6 separate regions of the Homo sapiens genome follow, and regions 2, 3, 4, 5 and 6 are each linked to region 1. The links are contacts of gene promoters, found by promoter capture Hi-C in blood cells and fetal thymus (Javierre and others, 2016). All regions are on one chromosome and are shown on one strand. Each heading gives the region's core, a stretch centred on a gene start or on the middle of the fragment in contact. The rest is flanking DNA. Distances are from core to core; before and after follow the strand shown.

What was found. Contacts are between HindIII fragments. The CHiCAGO score rates a contact against its expected background, and 5 or more counts as called.
Region 2: a fragment that was not itself captured here is called in contact with the fragment with the promoter of CKS2 in region 1 in 1 of 17 cell types (fetal thymus); the score reaches 5.1 in fetal thymus.
Region 3: a contact is called between a fragment that was not itself captured here and the fragment with the promoter of CKS2 in region 1, in 1 of 17 cell types (naive CD8 T cells). The highest score is 5.3, in naive CD8 T cells.
Region 4: a contact is called between the fragment with the promoter of NAA35 here and the fragment with the promoter of CKS2 in region 1, in 8 of 17 cell types (fetal thymus, total CD4 T cells, neutrophils and 5 more). The highest score is 10.9, in fetal thymus.
Region 5: the fragment with the promoter of IPPK here is called in contact with the fragment with the promoter of CKS2 in region 1 in 8 of 17 cell types (fetal thymus, total CD8 T cells, activated CD4 T cells and 5 more); the score reaches 18.9 in fetal thymus.
Region 6: a fragment that was not itself captured here is called in contact with the fragment with the promoter of CKS2 in region 1 in 1 of 17 cell types (total CD4 T cells); the score reaches 7.6 in total CD4 T cells.

Annotation. Positions count from the first base shown.
Region 1 is chr9:89,309,626-89,312,731 of GRCh38, forward strand. It overlaps CKS2 (CDC28 protein kinase regulatory subunit 2), which reads left to right and starts at 1,570. Exons shown (of 3, transcript NM_001827.3): 1 at 1,570-1,726. The coding sequence starts at 1,668. MIR3153 (microRNA 3153) reads left to right here and starts at 2,600; the gene lies at 2,600-2,681. LOC105376136 (a long non-coding RNA gene) reads right to left here and starts at 1,177. Exons shown (of 3, transcript XR_930101.4): 1 at 1-1,177. RefSeq lists a silencer at 876-1,105 and enhancers at 1,116-1,405, 2,076-2,125. The HindIII fragment of the contact is 1,703 bases long and covers 620-2,322 here.
Region 2 is chr9:94,164,814-94,167,919 of GRCh38, forward strand. MIRLET7A1HG (miRlet-7a-1/let-7f-1/let-7d cluster host gene) reads left to right here and starts at 1,445. Exons shown (of 5, transcript NR_170278.1): 1 at 1,445-1,568. RefSeq lists an enhancer at 810-1,374 and silencers at 1,070-1,869, 2,100-2,169. The HindIII fragment of the contact is 4,683 bases long and covers 1-3,106 here.
Region 3 is chr9:85,738,610-85,741,715 of GRCh38, forward strand. The region is part of intron 1 of AGTPBP1 (ATP/GTP binding carboxypeptidase 1); the gene reads right to left. Among named protein-coding and RNA genes, the nearest start is that of AGTPBP1, 1.8 kb to the right of the region's middle. RefSeq lists an enhancer at 2,359-2,508 and silencers at 2,679-2,998, 3,069-3,106. The HindIII fragment of the contact is 533 bases long and covers 1,537-2,069 here.
Region 4 is chr9:85,939,702-85,942,807 of GRCh38, forward strand. It overlaps NAA35 (N-alpha-acetyltransferase 35, NatC auxiliary subunit), which reads left to right and starts at 1,445. Exons shown (of 23, transcript NM_024635.4): 1 at 1,445-1,572; 2 at 2,454-2,582. The coding sequence starts at 2,459. RefSeq lists a silencer at 1,349-2,028. The HindIII fragment of the contact is 5,629 bases long and covers 1-2,469 here.
Region 5 is chr9:92,668,431-92,671,536 of GRCh38, forward strand. It overlaps IPPK (inositol-pentakisphosphate 2-kinase), which reads right to left and starts at 1,701. Exons shown (of 13, transcript NM_022755.6): 1 at 1,478-1,701. The coding sequence starts at 1,558. It overlaps LOC107987095 (a long non-coding RNA gene), which reads left to right and starts at 1,932. Exons shown (of 2, transcript XR_001746837.2): 1 at 1,932-2,243. RefSeq lists enhancers at 803-972, 1,713-2,162, 2,173-2,222, 2,977-3,106 and a silencer at 1,493-1,672. The HindIII fragment of the contact is 1,551 bases long and covers 326-1,876 here.
Region 6 is chr9:86,279,158-86,282,263 of GRCh38, forward strand. The region is part of intron 1 of ISCA1 (iron-sulfur cluster assembly 1); the gene reads right to left. LOC124902194 (a long non-coding RNA gene) reads right to left here and starts at 2,924. Exons shown (of 2, transcript XR_007061634.1): 1 at 2,812-2,924; 2 at 1-2,296. RefSeq lists a silencer at 2,762-3,061. The HindIII fragment of the contact is 1,224 bases long and covers 802-2,025 here.

The DNA.
Region 1 (3,106 bases), core at 320-2,819:
TGAGCAGCAGAGTGAGACTGTCTCCAAAAAAAAAAAAGGGCGGGGGGTGGAATTCCAAACACCCTCTTCCCCCAAGAAGTGATTGTATTAGGAAGTTAGGAGGTGGGGCCTTCGGGAGGTAATCAAGATTAGATGGTCATGAGGGTGGGGCCCTCACCCATGGAGATTATAAATGTCCTTAGCCGGCCTGTCTCACTTGTTCAGAAACCGGAAAAGTCCGTGGTCTGCAGTGTGGAAAAGGGCACCCGGACCTCTTACTTCCAGCCTCTAGTCTGGAAACTTTGTCTAAGGTACCCCATCTACATTACTTAGTCACAGCCACCCTGAACCCACTAGCCTGTACTGCGCTGGAGCATTTCGCATAAAATGAAATTAACATAAAAATGACACGTGCTCGTTGTGGAAAAAATACCAAAAAGATCACTTTTAATTCTGTCATCTAAAAATAACCACCAGTTACATTTATAAATTTCTTCCAGTAACTTTTTTATATGAACATGTTTTTAAACTTGGGTCAATATTAAAAGACCAGAAGTTGTTAAACATCATTTTAAATCCCCTTATCCAGGAATTAGCATTGTTATTCTTGGCCGCAGCAGAATATTATTTTATTCCCTCAAGCTTTCCATGGCTTGGGTCTGCCCTGGTTTTGAACATTAGGTTAGGCTACAGAAAGCATTCTGGGTCTCTGGCCCATTTGTTTCTTTCTTTGTGGAGACGGGGTCTGGCTCTGTTGCTCAGGCCTGTCTGGAACTCCTGGGCTCAAGCGACACTCCACCTCGGCCTCCCGAGTGGCTGGGACCACTGGCGCCCGCCGCCACCGCGCCGGCTCCGGGCCTCTCTCTACGCGTGGCTCCGCAGGCTCCATTCTCCACACAGTCGTCTAGGGGGGCGCCAGGAGCCCCGCGACGGGCCAGGCCGGAAGCTCAGCAAGTGCACCAGGCGGCGAAACGGCCGGCTGCGCAGGGCAGCCCCGGACACAGCCACGCCGCGGCCGCCCGGCGCTCCCCCGACCCAGCCGACCACGAAGCCGCCCTCCCCCTCACACCGCAGAACCTTTCTGCCTTTTACTACTTTTCAAAGTGGACCTAGGCTCCTGGCTCGAGCCTGAGGGGATACAAGGGATCACGAGGAGCGCCATCACCGTGCAAGGTCGACAGCTTCCGCTCAAAGCCCTGTGGCCCACGCTTCCGGCCTCGACCGACTACGTCATCACCAAACCCCGTGATACCTCACTCCACCTTCAGGTCCTCCGTCCCAACGGTTCCGTGTCCTGGAACTTTCCACGTTCCTGCGCACGCGCTCTGCGGCCCTTAACGTCCCGACTTCGCCCTCCTCTGGCCACGCCCCTGCCCGTTAAGGGCCCTGCCACCCCCGTGACGTACCTATCTTCCCTCGGGCAACCTCGCAACAGATCTCTGATTGGCTGACCCAGGAAGCGGACTTTGCGAGGCGGCGGCGACGATAGGCTGGCAGCCGGCCGACTTCCGCAGAAGGTGATTGGTCGGCGCTGCTGTCCAATCGGCGGCGGGCTGTCGGATTCAAATCCGGATCGTTGGGACTGCGGTCGTTAGTCTCCGGCGAGTTGTTGCCTGGGCTGGACGTGGTTTTGTCTGCTGCGCCCGCTCTTCGCGCTCTCGTTTCATTTTCTGCAGCGCGCCAGCAGGATGGCCCACAAGCAGATCTACTACTCGGACAAGTACTTCGACGAACACTACGAGTACCGGTGGGCGCCTTTCTTAGACCCCGAGCCGGCTCCCTCAGCCGGGGCCCCCGCGGGCGGGGCGACCCAGGCATAGTAGGGTCGGGGGTGGGGGCCGGGGCCTGGGGGGCGGAGCCCGGGGCCGGAGGGCGAGGGCCGGGGTTTGGGGTCGCGGCCACCTGGCGCCCCGCGCAGTCGGACATGGTTGGGTGCCTGGCCGCGCCGGGCCGGTTGGGCCTTTGTTCGGTGTGCGCGGAGGGTGAGGGAAGAGTGCCCACCGGGCCGCATTTAGTACCTGGGTAGGAACCGGCGCAACTTGGGGGTCATGGGGTCCTCGGCGACGCGGAGTGACCATCCCGTCACTTTTTTCTCGGCCGTGGCCGAAGTAATTAGGCCGTTCAGTAGCTGGTCTCAGTTCCAGTTCTTTGAACCAGTCCAGGAAAACCCACCTGGTGCCGTCCTTTTTCCTTTAGCAACCGTGACACACTTTCCCTGTCGCTGACGGGGTGATGCAGCTTTTACTAGTTTGTGGTTTAGAATGGTCAAATGGTCATTTTCATCTGTTAACACAGAGGAACACTTTTCTTTTTCTTGTTTTTGAAGTGAGTGGTATAAGAATAAGCTTTGGAGGCGACCCCCCGAAAAATGAGCTTGATGGGGATTCGAAAATGTTTACTGGGTATGGTGATTTGGGCCATTATAGGTTAGCCGCAGTCATACAATTGAGGGTATTATTAAAGGAGTTTCATTTTAAGGCCGATTAAGAACTTGAGTGGACTTTGGGCATCATTTTCTGCTAGTATACACTGGCCAAATTTTGGGCTTTGAGAAACTTTTGCGTTTGAGTCCTGAAGCACCGTACTAGAACATGGTGGCTGTAATCGATCAGTAAAATTAGACAAATTTTAAATGTCCCTGTCCCCTTCCCCCCAATTAAAGTAGATTGGGGGAAAGCGAGTAGGGACATTTAAAATTTGTTGTCCTTACTGTATGCGGGACACTTCATTTAGGGCGTGGCTTCAGAAAACAGTCAACCCCTTTTTCTTAACTAGGTAGCGACTAGAACGCTGCGTTCTGGGATACTACCAAGATTTAGGGGAGATAAAGCCCATGCCATCGTTGGCCAAATTGTGACCTTGTTTTCTGTCTGCTGCCTTTGTAGGTTAGATTTCTCCGAATGCTATTTAAGGAAGAAAGAACAAAACAGTGGGTGGTTTCTCTTTTTCTCCCCCTCCCTAGTAGCATGGAAGTCTGTTTTCACATGAGGACTACTGAATATTTCTATGGGTAGTAGTAATTGCACCCTTTTGTATTCCTAGCTAGAAAAATAGCATGTTTTTCTGGCTGTAGGTAAATTTCAAGTAGATTGTGTTAACCTTATAGTAATAATAAACTATACTCGTG
Region 2 (3,106 bases), core at 239-2,738, 4.9 Mb after region 1:
CCACCTCAGCCTACTTCATCATTATTAGATATCATTTAATCCTACCCTACTGCTGTGCTAGGTACTTGGCATAGACAGGAACAAAACAGTTTCTGCCCTTGAAGAGTTCCACATCCCCTGCAGCATAACCACACTCTTCCCCTGAACTGTACTCGATCTAGCTCTGGGGCCTGCTCTCTCCTTTCTCAATATATCTTCTAACCTCAAGAAGTCCTCCCCAAATCCTACCCATGGCTTAAGCTCAAGTTTCCCCCCCTCTAGTTTCTTGTTCACTTTAGCTCACAAAATAAAGTCCCCATTAAAAACAAAACGAAACAAACTCCTTTGGCACTTATTGCATACACTAATATGAGTGCTAAAAGGGGAGCTGATACCACCACCTAAGATCATAAATGTAAACGTACAGCATGTCAAGTACTATTTCCCATAGTTCTATTACAGACAAGGACCCACTTTTTTAAAAGTGTTGCACAAAGTCACAATGAATTACAAAAAGCAGAGCTACAGCCCAGGTCTTGCGGTTCCCAGCCATAAAATCTTAAAACTGGCAGAGACCTCAAACGACACCTTAACTAGTGATTTCAGAGTCCTAGCATGTGAAAGTTGTAATGGGGATGGAGGAACTGGGCTTTGGATTAATTTTAAAACAACAAAATCAAGGATTGCTTTGAAAAACATTTGAAGACAAAAATCTTCAAAACATGGGTTGGAAAAGATAACAAAAAAAAGCTCAGGGAGGCTGAGGTGGGAGGATCTCTAGAGTCCGGATGTCGAGGCTACAGTGAGCCGTGACCCACGCCACTGCACTCCAGCCCTGGAGAAAGAGCGAGAGACCGTGTCTCGAAAAAACAAACAACAAAAAAACCCTCAGACCCCAAAACGTCAAGGAATAAAAGTAAAAGGTTGGGCGGACACAACTCCTCCATTTGACAGATGAGCAAACTGAGGCACAGAACTCCAGGAGGCCTGGCCAAGGCCTCCTGGAGGGAACAGGGTCAGTTGACGGAAAAGAGCCAGAGGCTGCACGCTGGACAGCGTTCGGACCTTCCGGGTCGCGCACGTGTAAATTGCCCCCAGGAGCCTGAGGGAGCAAAGCAGCCGCCCCGCCCCGCGGGCAGCGCGTTCAGCGGCCACGTGACACAGCCAGCCCATCACGCGCAAAGGGCAGGGCCTGGAGGACACCACCCCCGCCACTCTCTCAGCCCTCCACTAGGAAAGAAGGAGATGGTATTGGTGGGCGGGCCAGACCCGCCTCCCCCACGGTGGCCACCCCGCGCGAGGCGGGCCCAGCCGCCGCCCTCCAGTGAGGGGACGGACGAGCTCAGCTAGGCCAAGGCGAAAGAGCGACGCGCACTTCAATCAGACGGCTTCACCAATGGGCTTGCGCGCTTTCCGCGGCGCCCGCCCCTGCATCGGCCTCCCGGCGACCGCGCTGCTTTCCCTCAGGCCGCCGCGGCGGCGCCCGCCCGCGCCTCCATCCGGGTCCTGGCGCGGTGCTCTCCCGGCAGCGACGGGCGCGAGGGCCGGGGCATTCCCACGGCCGCGACGGCCCTCTCCGCGAGCGCGAGGTGGGTATGGCGGACGCGGCAGCGAGCGCGGGTCCGTCGCCATTTTATTTCGCGGAGACTCGCGGCAGCGGGTGGGCAGAATGGGAGAGCCGTGCGCCGGCCCGCGCCTGTCCGGCTAACGCGGGCTGGGACTGGTGGGGCGGCCTGCCCCCTCCAGCGGGCGGGTGGCCCCGGGGGGCCGGCGGGCTGCTAGCGGAAGTCGCGGGCGCTCGGGGCACGGGGGAGGGGTGCCGCGTGGCCGCCGCGGGGCCGGCTCCAACCCCCTCCGCTTCCCGCCCAGCTCCTCACCGACAGGGCGGGGGAGGGGGGGTCATTCTTCACATTCCTTACCCCGCCCTTCCCCCCGCTTCAATCAAACTTGGGGCGGGCGGAAGGCCCGCCTTCCGGCCGGCGCCTGTTGGCCGGCGCCGCCTCTGACTGTGGCGTGACTGGTTGTAGGCGCCGCCAGGTGCCTCTGACGTCACTTCCGCTATCAAGTTTGTGGGCCGGGGAGACCTTGGCCTTGGGGGTTGGGATGAAGGAGGGAAGGTAGGAAGTGCGAGGGGCGGGGGGACAGGGCGGGAAGGCGCGGGCGGGGAGGGCGGGAGAGTCGTGGCTGGCTGCATGCCCCTGCTCCCCGCGGCCAAGTGCAGCCTCCCTTCCTGAAGCAGCTGCTGCGGCTGGAGGTCCGCTGCGGCAGCCGTCCTTGGCGAGGGGGAGGGGAACGCGGGAGCGGGAGGAAATCGTATCCCGGGGGACGGGGCTTGGAGATTTGCGACTCGGTGTCACCGGAAACAGCGCTGGCCTTTTGAGTCGACGCTGCAAACTCTTGGAACCGAGTGCCTCTCAGAAGGCTTGCTAATAAACTTCCCGGGCGGGCTCTAGTGTGAGGAATGTGGTAACCTGTATGTCCTTGGCCAGTAATGCCCTTCGGTCTTTCAACTTTTTACAGTAGATTCTGTGTCAGAGGTAATGGTATGTATTCTTCAACTTACCGGTTTTTAAAAAATTGACTAACGAGAGGGCGGGCAGACAGGAAAAAGGCAGGGAAGACAGTGAATGTTAAAATTTTGAGGTAAATCAGGAGACTGGTTGAGTTTTGCTTTTTAACTTCATTGATAATACTGCTTTCTTGGCATACAGTTCCTAAAGTTAAAGCATCATGTGGCATTCCTTTGCATTTATTTCTGTTGGCCTGAAGTATAAGAACATTGAATGTCAAATTCCAAATTTATGTGTAGTTTAGGAAATAATTGTTTATATCCAGAATTCTTTTGGTGTTTGGCGGGGTCTGGTTTTATTTACTGTATATTCGGGAAGTATGTGTAGTTAGGGAAGTAAAAACTTGGAAGTTACTTTGGGTTTTGTGAGAATGTTTGATTCATTATACATATTTGTTAAAAGTTTACTTTGAAACTTCAACTTTGAGAATAGACAAATTTCTTGACGTCCTGTAAATTCAGTGGTATTATATAGCATTTTAAAATTTATCACTTAGGTGCAATTACAGTGTGAGGGGAAAAGTTAACTTTTTTGAATAGTTACATTGCAGTGACAGC
Region 3 (3,106 bases), core at 553-3,052, 3.6 Mb before region 1:
AAAATAGCAGCCATCACCAACAGGAGGGAGACAATCCAAGGTTCTGTCAGAAGGGACAAACGGATTTATCAACAGCTCTCCAGTAGCATCCCAGGGCACCCAGCTCAGGGTCTAGCTGTTCTATTTAAAACTGACTTACATGTTTCCAAGGCAGGAGGCAGGACAGTGAGACTAAGCTCTCATTTAACCCCAAAGGAGCAAATGGGTCATAGTGGAATTAATCTGCACTAATACTGCTCCATCCCCCAAAAGTCCTTTTTCTGCTTACTAGATCCCTTTGAAGACTGAGGAAGAGCAACGGTAATAATAGCAATATTTACTGGGCACTTACTACATGCCAGGCACTGTGGGCTAAGCACTTTACTTGTATTAATCACTTAATATTTGAGAATATCTTAAGAGTATACACTAATATTATGTCATTTTTGGAGCTGAGAAAATTAAAGTACAAAAAGGACAAATAACTTGTCTTAAAAAAATAAAAATAAAAATAACTTGCCTAAAGCAAAGCCAGGACCCAAACCGAGCCATCTGGCTCTGAGGCCCAACTCCTTAGCCACTACACCATAGTACACAGGCACAGTAATCAACAATAACATCTGAAGTTTAAAATTCAGTGCCCACCCTACAAAATTTATGTTGTTTATACTGAAACCCATTGCCTAAGGAAAGCTCCCATCTTGCAGATGGCCCTCTGACAGGTGCATCCATTGCTATTCACGCACTGTTCAACTTTCAGATAGTGGGGGACTTCAAGCAAGAAAAGCAGATTTGGGAAGATGAATACTTTGGATGAGGTTTAAAAAAATTCAGGCCAGGACGGGCGTGGTGGCGGACGCCTGTAATCCCAGGACTTTGGGAGGCCGAGGTGGGCAGACCACCTGAGGTCAGGAGTTCAAGACGAGCTTGGGTAACATGGTGAAACCCCGTCTCTACTAAAAACAAAAACTTAGCCGGGCGTGGTGGTGTGCTCCTGTAATCCCAGCTATTCGGGAGGCTGAGGCAGGAGAATCGCTTGAACCCGGGAGGCAGAGGCTGTAGTGAGCCAAGATCGTGCCACTGCACTCCAGCCTGGGCGACAAGAGCGAAACTCCGTCTCAAAAAAAAAAAAAAAAAAATTCAGGCCAAGCTTGGTGGCTCACGCCTGTAATCCCTGCACCTTAAGAAGCTGAGGCTAGTGGATCACCTGAGGTTGGGAGTTCGATACCAGCCTGGCCAACATGGTGAAACCCGTCTCTACTAAAAACACAAAAATTAGCTAGGCGTGGTGACGCGCGCCTATAATCAAGAAGCTGAGGCGGGAGAATCGCTTGAACCCGGTAGGGGCAGGTTGCAGTGAGCCGAGATCGCACCACTGGCACTCTAGCCTGGGCGAGAGAGTGAGACTCCGTCTCAAAAAAAAAAAAAAAGTAAAATACAAATTACAAAATTTCATAACTGTTGGACCTCTTTTCCTTCTGCTAATGGAAGTAAAACCATTATTATATAGCAGCCTAGCCAGACTTTTCTAAAGAGAAGAATGCCTCAATTCGGAAAAGCTTTATAAAAATTGCTTCTACAAAAGTTTAATTAATAGATTTAAATGCTTTGCAATGTTGGCCAAATACGAGGGTAGTTTTAAGCCTATCCACTTCATTTCCGAGTTCAGAGTGAGTCTGCAGTTGTAATTATGTGATTAATCAATTCAAGGCAGAGTTTTGTGATCATTAAAAATGAACCTGTAACTTCACCATAGAATTTAACTTAAGAGAAGTGGAATGGGAAAAAGAGCAAGTCATATTAGAACTCTGCCTGCATGATGAGAAACAGTGGGTAAGGCACGACTTATTATTTCGCAGTAATTCTACATAGGAAATACAGATCTTTCAGAGTTTTGTTTGGTTTTGACATTTGGCACATGTTTTAAAATAAGCACCATTTAAAGTTCCTTAAATAAATCATTTCTTTTTTGGCCTACTGAACTAAAAACATTCCACAATACAATTACAAAAATAACTTTCCGGTTTTCTCAGACAACCAGTTTATAAGAATAATTCAGAAGTTCACAAAGGATAATTTGATTTACATAAAGCTTAAAAAACGGACATAAAAGGTAAGTGAAAATGACCGATTAAGAAGACTGTTAAGGTCCTTTCTAACTACAAATTGTCATGCATTGTAATTAAACACAACTACAATGTTAAACACCTGAAGGAAAAAACCCACATAGAATTAATACTGCCAAAGAAAATTTCCGCTATCTTCAGGCACTTGAGTAAGCTATGTTAAAACGGGAAATGGGCTTTAAATTATCAACATTCACATCGATTACACTATGATGCATGAAAACTCCATTCTACAATGAGTAAACGCCCAAGAAAGGAACCCAACCAACTCCAATTGCCCTGGTGCTCGTAAGAGGTTTATACCGCACAAGGGGTAAAACAACGGTAGAGTCGAGCAAGCCTTTGGGTTACAACAGTCCTTGAACACTTGCAATTGAGAACCCGCAATTCAGGAAGGAAGACACTAAGGAAACTCTGCACTGTCATCCAGGGTGATCTGATTCAGGTTCAAACCAAACGCTCAAGGCGACAAGTTGTAAACAGAAGACACACTTCAGCTCAAACCACCCAGCGAGAGGAAGCAAACGTGCCCATCGCCGATGTCACAGCAAATCCCACCTTGCTGGCGCTCAGTCGGGAACGCTAGAATTCTCGAAGCACAGGGGCCCGCGATTCAGCGGCCCGCTACCACTGGGGCGGGGGAGAGCGGGGCTGGGCGCGCCCGCCCCCGGCCCTGCAGCCCCTCGGCTGGACTCCCCGCGGCGCCGCGAGCTCGGGCCCGAGAGAAAGGGCTGAGCAGAAAGGGCGGCCTCCGCCCAGAGACCGCGCCCGATACCCTCCGCAAGGTCTGGGACGGGGATCCACCGAGGGTCCGGGGACTGGGGAAGGCGTTTTCCAGACCCAGTCAAAGCCCCACCCCGTCAGGGCTTTCCCTCAAGACCGAGTGCGTTCCCCTCACGCGTCACATGTGTAACATGCGTTACACAACCCGTCAGGTAAGGGGCGCAGGGATCCGGGGTCGCCCCTCCTACCCCCGGGCGCCGTCGCTCGCATCTCCCGCG
Region 4 (3,106 bases), core at 195-2,694, 3.4 Mb before region 1:
CTAATTTTTTTGTATTTTTAGTAGAGACAGGATTTCACCATATTGGTCAGGCTAGTCTCCAACCCGACCTCTCCACTGCCAGCCTCCCAAAGTGTTGGGATTACACGCATGAGCTACCAGCTACCAAGCTCAGCCTGATTTCTTTTACTCAATATATTTTTGAAATTCATTCATGTTGTATGTCAAGTAGTTTATCCCTGTTTATTGATAATTACATTCATTACATTGTATGGATATGCCACAAATTGTTTTTATTCAACAGTTGATGGACATTTGGGTTGTCTGTAGTTTTTGATGATTAAAAACAAAGCTGGGCCAGGCACGGTGGCTCATACCTGTAATCCCAGCACTCTGGGAGGCTGAGGTGGGCAGATCACGAGGTCAGGAGTTTGAGATCAGCCTGACCAACATGGTGAAACCCCATCTCTACTAAAAATACAAAAAACAGCCTGGTGTGGGGGCAGGCGCCTGTAATCCCAGCTACTCGGGAGACTGAGGCACGAGAATTGCTTGAACCTGAAAGGCAGAGGTTGCAATGAGCCGAGATCAGGTCACTGCACTCTAGCAGGGGCGACAAGAGTGACACTCTGTCTCAAACAAAAACAAAAACAAAGCAAAACAAAGCTGGTATGAACATTAACGTACAAGCCTTTGTATGAATATGTTTTTGTTCCTAAGTAAATTCGTAGATTACTGGATCGAATGATAAGTATATGATTATAAGGAGAGATTGTTAAGTTTTCCAAAGTGGTTGTACCATTTTGCATTACCACCACCAACATAACAGAGGTCCAGTTGCTCTGCATCCTTGCCAACATTTGGTATTATCTTTTCCATCTTTTAATTTTGGGCCATCCTAAAGAACAGGTGGTGATAAAGATGTGCTTCTTACCTGCGCCCGTCTATTTATGTAACCCCATTTAAAAACTGATCATTTTATTAATAAATTAAAAAAATCTAAAACATATAAGAATCTGAAATTAAATGTCTGGCTTGACTTTGCAGATATTTTGAATCTATGTTTCCTCACGAAACTCCCAGGCGCTGTATAGGAAACATAAATCCGTTGTCAGGCAGCAGTAGCACGCTGTTGCTCTCGGAGCTTGGCTGCTCGTTCGTGCTCGCAACCACTAAGGTCTACGCAAACCTCCACGGTTTCCTTCCGCCTTCGCGTCACCTTTCTAAGAAATTCCCAGAGGGCAGCGCAGACGGGGCGGGCTCTGAGACTCCGGGCTCCGCCTCTTTCCGGGAACCGCCCACTACCCAGGACTCCGACAGAGGGTGAAAAAAGATAACTTCCGGTCTCGCGATCGTCTCTAATCTCGCGAGAAGAGAAGGCGGCCGCCATCGGCCGAACGGAGGCGGTGGCGAGGGAGGGGGTGTGGCCGGGGAGCGCGAAGTCCCCGGGAGTAAGGGAGAGGGGGCGGGGTCGCGCGTCCCGGGCATACGCATGCGTGCACGCTGCCGGTCGGGCTGGGCTGAGAGGGGAGGGGGCGGCGGCGGCCGAGGCGGCGTCGTTATTTCCGTGGTCCGGACAGTGCGTGGCGGCGCGGGTGACCACGGGAGAAGTAGGTAGGGACCGCCCCTGCGTAGCCATTGAAACCCTCTCGCTCGTGTGTCCGAGAGCCGCAGCCCCCCGCGCGTGTGGCAGATCCTGGGGACCCCAGGTCACCCTGCGGCCCCGGCCCTCCCGCTGCGCGTCAGGTAGGAGCGGCGGGCTCCCCAGTGCCCGCTGTCGGCCGAGGCCCCACTCTTGCCCGGTGTTGCCGAGGCGACGACCCGGCGCCGGACGTGCCCGCCCTCCCGCGCGGCGACAGCTCTGTCCTTGCTTATGCGCCCAGTGGGACCGGGGCTGGGCTGGGCTGACCCGGGCAGGGCGGAAGGGAAGCGTGTGCCCGCCTCAGGTGTGCCTCGGCCCTAGGCCCGGCCGGCGGGACCCTGCGGTGCCTGCCGGCTCCTCATTGCTCCCGGCGAGGTTCTGCCTGGGTCCGGGCCGGCTCTGGCCCGGGAGAGGTCCCAGCGAGCTCTGGCCAGATGAAGGGCTACCTTGATTGACTTCGGTAGCTGCCGCATGGGGTCCTGGGCTGCGAGAGGGGACCCTGAATAGTGCCTTGGTCTTTTGTGGCTATTATTGAAAGTTGGAAGCTCTGGAGTTGTTCTTTTCGGGCCAGAGGTGAGATGGTTTGTGATTTTTCTTCTTAAACAGTAGGAAGGCAAAATGTTTATGGGCCCTGGTAGGTGGTGGGCTAATAGTAAGCAGCAGGAGTGTTAATTGACGTGCGATTTGATTGCATTAAGGTTATTCTTTGCAGTACTGTCCTTAGACTCAGAAGAGTTCTGCTTTAAAGAGTTTAGTTAAGACTTCATCCTATGCTGAAACAAACACCCATTTCTGCAAATACTCTTGCCCTGAAAGCTACATCCTCTCTCTTACATCAGTATTAATTTTACAGGCATAATGGTTATGAAAGCTTCTGTAGATGATGACGATTCAGGATGGGAGCTCAGTATGCCAGAAAAAATGGAGAAAAGCAATACAAACTGGGTGGACATTACCCAAGATTTTGAAGAAGCTTGTCGAGGTGAGTCTGATTTTTGGATTAGAAGTTCAGCATCTGGAAGGGGTAGAATGACGATTGTGCTTTCTAAACTTACCTCATTAGATGAAATCAACAGGTAAATGTGGTTTGTTGAGTTTGTTAGCCACACTTATTCTGTATCCTCTAATTTTAACTTTAAAGCAAATGTATATTTGATACAGCATTAAATACAGATGTTGAGGCAGTATTTTAAAATTGAATTTTTCTTGCTTTAACAGGTTAGAGAGAGCAGTAATTTCTAACTGTGGAAAACACTTTGTTAATCTAAAAGATAATAGTATTTTTGTATGTTTGAGGTTTCAGTATGATCAGATCACATCATTCCTTGTTTAAGATTGTCCAGTGGCTTCCTGTTGCAGGTAGAATAAAATCCACCCTCCTTCCCTATGGGTCTATAAAATCTGGTCCCTGCCTGCCACTCAGGTTTCATTTATGTGCCACTGTCCCCGCCAGGCTTATTACATTCCAGTCACAGGTCTTTTTTATCTCTTCGTAATACACACCAA
Region 5 (3,106 bases), core at 451-2,950, 3.4 Mb after region 1:
TCTGCTCTTTCAACATGGGTGTCCTTTTGCTCCAAGCCTGAAACTTGCTGCTTCATCTGCCACTACTTTTGAAATTTAATGTATCAGCCCTCACTAAAGAAAAGTCTTAGGTTTACCTAAAATGCAGAGATACATCTAATCTTACCAAGGAATTGGAAGATTAGTATTTGTTTTGGGAAAGGATTCAGGGGATCAGCACAGTAACCCAACAACAAAAGGACTCACGCAGAAACATCCCTCACTTTGCCAATAGTGGACTACACAAGAGAAGGACAGCTTTAGGTTAGCCTGGTCCATTATTAATTCACCTAAAGATCTTGAGCAAAGCTTGTAGTCTCTGTTCTTTAGTTCCCTGTGCTAATGAGCAACAAAATCCAAAGGCACAACCTAGGGGCTACCTGGGTGTTTGCAGCTTACACTACAGCTGACCAATGCACCCAGCATAGGAACAACAGAAGCAAGGCAGGACTCCACTGCCTACATCATCCCTGACAAGCTGTTCGACTCGGGCAATGCCCTTAACCTCTCTGATTTTCACTTTATTTATCTGTCCAAGGGATGACAATTATCACTTGCTAAGCATAACTTGATGGGTTCCTGCGTAACTGGTCTTTGCAACAATCCCACAAAGTGAATTCTACTACTAGTTCCACTTCACAAATGTAGACACTGAGATTCCTGTGCCTTTAACACCCATGCTCTAACTCCTCCCTACATGACACCTATCCTCGCCTCCCTCACCCCCCTCCCCCGTTCCAGCCGGCCACATTCCTGCGTGGTTGTACCAGACAGCAAAAGGTCAGAGAGATCTGGGCCCTCACAGAAACCCACACGCTTCACTCTTGGGATTCACCTTTGCGAGATCTTACTGCAGTTTCTAAAACTTTCACCCTCGTTGAATTCAGGTGAAAGCCTTCAAATTCTAAAAGGTTGAGAAGAGGACCTGTGGACAACATCCCCTTACTATTAACAGCACAGCAATTCCGTAGTCTCACGAGGCTGAACTCTTTTGGTGCTGAGAGTAACAGCACTGTGGGCACTCTGCTTCTTCCTCCAGTGCTGGCCGGGCCCTCCGTCCCAACCAAGCCTCCACCCCACTGCGGCCTGGCAGTCCGGCGGGCATCCAGGCGGGAGGCGGCACCGCGTGAGGCTGAGCGCGGCACCGACGGGGCGGGGAGGGGGATGTGGAACTGACTCTGACGGGGAACGGGAATACTGAGGGGACGACAGACCGGCCAGGAGAAGGATCTGGGGCAATGGGAGACTGACCCAGTAGAGAGGGGATACTGGGGTGATGAGGAACCCAAGCGGTAGGGGGGGATGCTGGAGGGTGGGGGAATTCCGGAGACCGGCCGGGGAGGAGGAAGGTACTGGGGGGACGTGGAACCGACCCTGTTGAGGAAACGGATAATGGGGGCGGGGTGATACCGGCCGTCGGAGTGAGGTACCGGACCTGCGCCGCACGTCCACCGCTCACCTGCGCGTGGGCCACCACCAGGCTCTTATTGCCCTCTCCGTGGTACCCCCATTCATTCTCGTCCATCTTCCCCTCTTCCATGCCCAGGCGCAGCCCTGGCGCCTCGCGGGCTAGGACTCGGGGACGCGAGCTGGGGGCCGCCCGCCTCGCTGGGAACCAGCCGCTGCGGTCGGGGGAGGAGCGCCTGTCAGCTGCCGCCCCCGCTCGACCCCGCCGCGGCGACTAGCAAGCTGTGGCCGCCGGAAGCCACGCCCCCGGCGCCTGCCATGACGGAGTCGGGCAATTCCGGGTTCGTGACACTTTCCTCACACCGATCGCGACGGTGGATGGGCCGGCGGCCATCTTAGGTACTGGTAGAGCGACTCATTTCCGGAACGCGGTCTTGGGAGCCGGAAGAGAAGCTTCCGGCCTCGGCGCCGGATGTGTAGCTGGCGGAAGGAGCCGGCGGCTTTTCGGCGCCCGGTAGTGACCGGCAGTCCCCGGGTAGCCAGGGTGTCTGGGTGTTGGGACCGCTTAGTCGCGAGACCCCAGCAAACCTCTTGGCGTCTCTGAGCCTCAGCTTTTGCTTCTGTAGAATAGGGTGTACTCATCGTACATTTCATGGGAATACCTAACGCAGTCATTTGGATGGTCCTGTGAGGTAGAAAACATTGTCCAACGTTCTACGCGAGGAAATGTGGCTGGGCCACAGGACTGGACTCCCCAGTCCCGCTTTTGCCTGAAGACTTCGAGGGACGCAGTTGGAGCGCAAGGCTCCTGCTTGGCGGTGAGGCAGAGGGCTAACGACCTTCCTTCTCCTAAATTCACTGATGCGGCGGCAAGAATGGCACCGCCTCGTAGAGCTACCGCATTTCCCAAACTCGTAGTCTCAGGACCACTTTATACTCATAAAAATGAGGGCCCCAAGCTTTTGCTAATGTGGGTTACAGCTATCGATGTTACCACATTCTAAGTTAAAATGCTTTAAAGTTTTTTGTTGTTTCGTTTAAAAGTAAACAGCCGGGCGCGGTAGCTCACGCCTGTAATCCCAGCACTTTGGGAGGCTGAGGCGGGCGTATCACCTGAGGTCAGGAGTTTGAGACCAGCCTGGCCAACATGGTGAAACCCTGTCTCTACTAAAAATACAAAAATGAGCCAGGTATGGTGGCGCAGGCCTGTAATCCCAGCTACTCCGGAGGCTGAGGCAAGAGAATCATTTGAACCCAGGAGGCGGAGGTTGCGGTAAGCCAAGATCGCGCCATTGCACTCCAGCGTGGACGACAGAGTGAGACTCCATCTCAAAAAAAAAAAAAAAAAAAAAAGTAAACATTACATTCCACGCCCACCACCAAAATAAAGGAGTGGTATTGTTTTACACTTTTGCAAATCTTTTTAAAATCTGACCTAATAGGTTCTCACATGTGCTTCGGCATTCGGTCTGCTGCAATATATTGCATTGGTTGACATACACATTGTGAAGAACATCTGCAGTTATGTAGTTCACAAAGAGAGGACCTGCAGACCCAACTTTGAGAACGGCTGGGCACCTTGCCAGGCCTTGGGAATTGTAGTGAAATCAGGCCAGTGACTCAGGAAAATGAGCTGAAGGCTTTGAGCATCTCTTTCCTCCATTTTAGGCCTCAAAAGGGA
Region 6 (3,106 bases), core at 164-2,663, 3.0 Mb before region 1:
CTCAACTGGACTCCAATAGAAAGTTAAGCCCTAAGGCACCTTCCGTACACAATGAATTCATCAAGAATGATAGTGGCTGTGCACCATCATTCTCTCATAGAACTTGGTTGAGTTTTAATGCACAGCTGTGATCCACCCCAGTCCTACAAATTAGAGTTGCTCTGACTTGTACAATGATGGAAATAAATCTGTCTGCAAGCAGGGCACTATTTACTCTTCAGATTCTTTAATCACATCTGGCTCCTGCAAGTTCAATTCCACTTGTCAATTTCTAGATATGTAGGGAAATAGGGAAGATGTAGATAATCTGATAATGACAGCATTGAACTGTGTTATATTATCAGTTACTTTTCCTAGCCTTTTGTTGACATCTGGTAGACTCCACACATATAGCACTTTTCAAATGTTGCAACATGTCAAATTCCTAACATCAAAATTTATATATCCAGGTAACATTTATCCCTTCCAATCAGTTTTACTGAATTAGGTATACTTGTGTTTGCTCTTATCTGTCTCTACTTATTAGACCCAAGTAACATTTACCTCTTCCAATCAGTTTTACTGAATTACGTATACTTTTGTTTGCTCTCTTATCTGTCTCCATTCATTAGGCCTTTGACGGCATCACTACTTTTGCACTTGACGATACATGCTGATGATAAACTAAGCACAAAGAGCAATACATGCCATAGTGTCCTGACTAGGGCACGAATGCTGGAACTAAAATGACTGCAAGCCCACCAACACAGGCTGTGTGGAAAACAGCATTGATGTGCCTTCTCTCTGGTACAGCTTCTGAGAAGCTTCTAAAGTCAGCCATACTTAAGTAGGACAACAGAGTACAGACAGTAGACTCCTGCAAGTTAATCAAAACAGCTGAGTCAGGCAACATGGATACCTTGAGAACTGCTATGATAACATGTACTGAAGCAGAGGGGAGCAAGTGTGGAGAGAGACCAAGCCTGAGAATGTGCAGTGCTATTACTCCTAGTAAGAGGTGGCAAAGGCTTGGCCTGCGACTGTGCCCCGTAGGCTGGGAACTGTATAACTCATTCATTTGTCTTGAAACACAGCAGATCTTGATAAATGTCTGCTGAATGACTAGGAATGGAGAGAAAGGGACTGACATAGAAATTCTGAAGGAAGGGCAAGGCACGGTGGCTCATGCCTGTGATCCCAGCACTTTGGGAGGCTGAGACGAGTGGATCACGAGGTCAGGAGTCCAAGACCAGCCTGGTGAAGATGGTGAAACCCCATCTCTACTAAAAATACAAAAATAAATAAATAAATAAGCTGGGCATGGTGGTGGGCGTCTGTAATCCCAGCTACTCAGGAGGCTGAGGCAGAGAGTTGCTTGAACTCAGTAGGCAGAGGCTGCAGTGAGCTGAGATCACGCCACTGCACTCCAGCCTGGGCAACCCAGCGAAACCCTGTCTCAAAAAAAAAAAAAAAAAAAAGAAATTCTGAAGGAAGAGGTAACATGTCAAATGGTGATGGAGAAAGACATCAGGGACCAGGCATGGTGGCTCACACCTGTAATCCCTGCACACTGGGAGCCTGAGGCAGTGGACTGCTTGAGCCCAGGAGTTCGAGACCAGCCTGGGCAACCCAGGGAGACCCTAGGTGCATGCATGACGGTGCACACCGGTGGTCCCAGCGACTTGGGAGCCTGAGGTGGGAGGATCGCTTGGGCCCAGGAGGTTGACGCTGCAGTGTGCCATGATTGCACCACTGAACTACAGCCTGGGAGATAGAGTGAGACCCTGTCTCCAAAAACAAAACAAACAAAAACAAACAAACAAACAAAAAACAAAAAACAAAAAACCCAGTTAATAGGGTTGCTAAAAAGCAAAAAAGAAAAGGCAAAAACTGTTCCTGAACCTTCTGGCTCTTCCTGGATCTACCATTACCAGTGGAAGAATTCTGAATAATTCTTACTGAGATTGAAAGAGACACAAAGAATGAGTTGTGCCCTCTAGTTCTTAAAACCTTGTTTAATTCTACATCCCACGGTGTATGAAAATAAGCTTGCTCCTACAGAAAAGAGGTAATATAGAATGATACATAATCAGTACACTAGTAGTACCATATATAATCAGGGTAATATCAAAGGCCTAAAAAATTGATTATAAAAATAAATTCTCTCACCTGATCACAATTTTCTTCTACTTTGCTACAAACTTATTTTCTGGTAATAGGCCCTTTTGGCATTAGATGCAACAGAATCGATGAGTCAATTTAAATCGTTTTTTTTCCCAGTCTCTAAGCGAATGGTTGCATAAAGTCGTCTCCTTCACTAAAAGGGGAGTGTATGTAGGAACGTGATCATAAATTTTTCTTTTGGGGTGAAAGTATTTTGGAACTAGATAGAGGTGATGGTTGCACGACACTGTGAATGTCTTAAATGGCACTGAATTGTACCCTTTAAAAGGACTAATTTTATGTTATGTGGATTTTCCTTCCACTAAAAAACTGAACGGTGCGGCCGGAACACTGAGCTCAGTGAATTCTCTAAGTAATCAATGGTTGCACTCTGGTGCCCTCTGAGTGTTTGACCTTTCACCCAGAAAAGGCTGTAAACTCACTCTGGGAAATCATCTTTTGTCCTAAGAGCCTAGGCTTGCTAGAGGCACAGAGGGAGTTTCAAAGGCCTCAATCACCCAGGACACCGGCAAGTAACGCTTTGCGCGCCGCGGCCGTGACCTCGGCAGGAGCCGGGGGCTTTGTTGTCGCTGTGCTCGCCCTCTGCGAACGCTGTCGCCCCGACACAGCGGTCCTTCGGACAGCCTGGTCCCTCCCCACCCCACGCACCTCCAGGCTAGGACTCCGGGCCACCACCGGGAACCCCCGCCACCGGGCACGTTCAGCCTCTGCTTAACCGGAACGGCCGAACAGCGCAGGCCGGCAGGAGTGTGGAGGCGATCGGCCCCCGGGGACGCCCACCCCCGGGATCCCCTCCGGCCCGCACGCGGTTGCCGCGCGGCCTGACGGGAAACGTAGTTTCCGGGGCCAAGAGAGCAGCCCCGCCCGGGACTTGTTTATCGTTGCAAAGAGGGGCCGGAGGCGAAGGAGGCGGCGAGGCTGTGCGGCGGGTCGGAGCGACGCC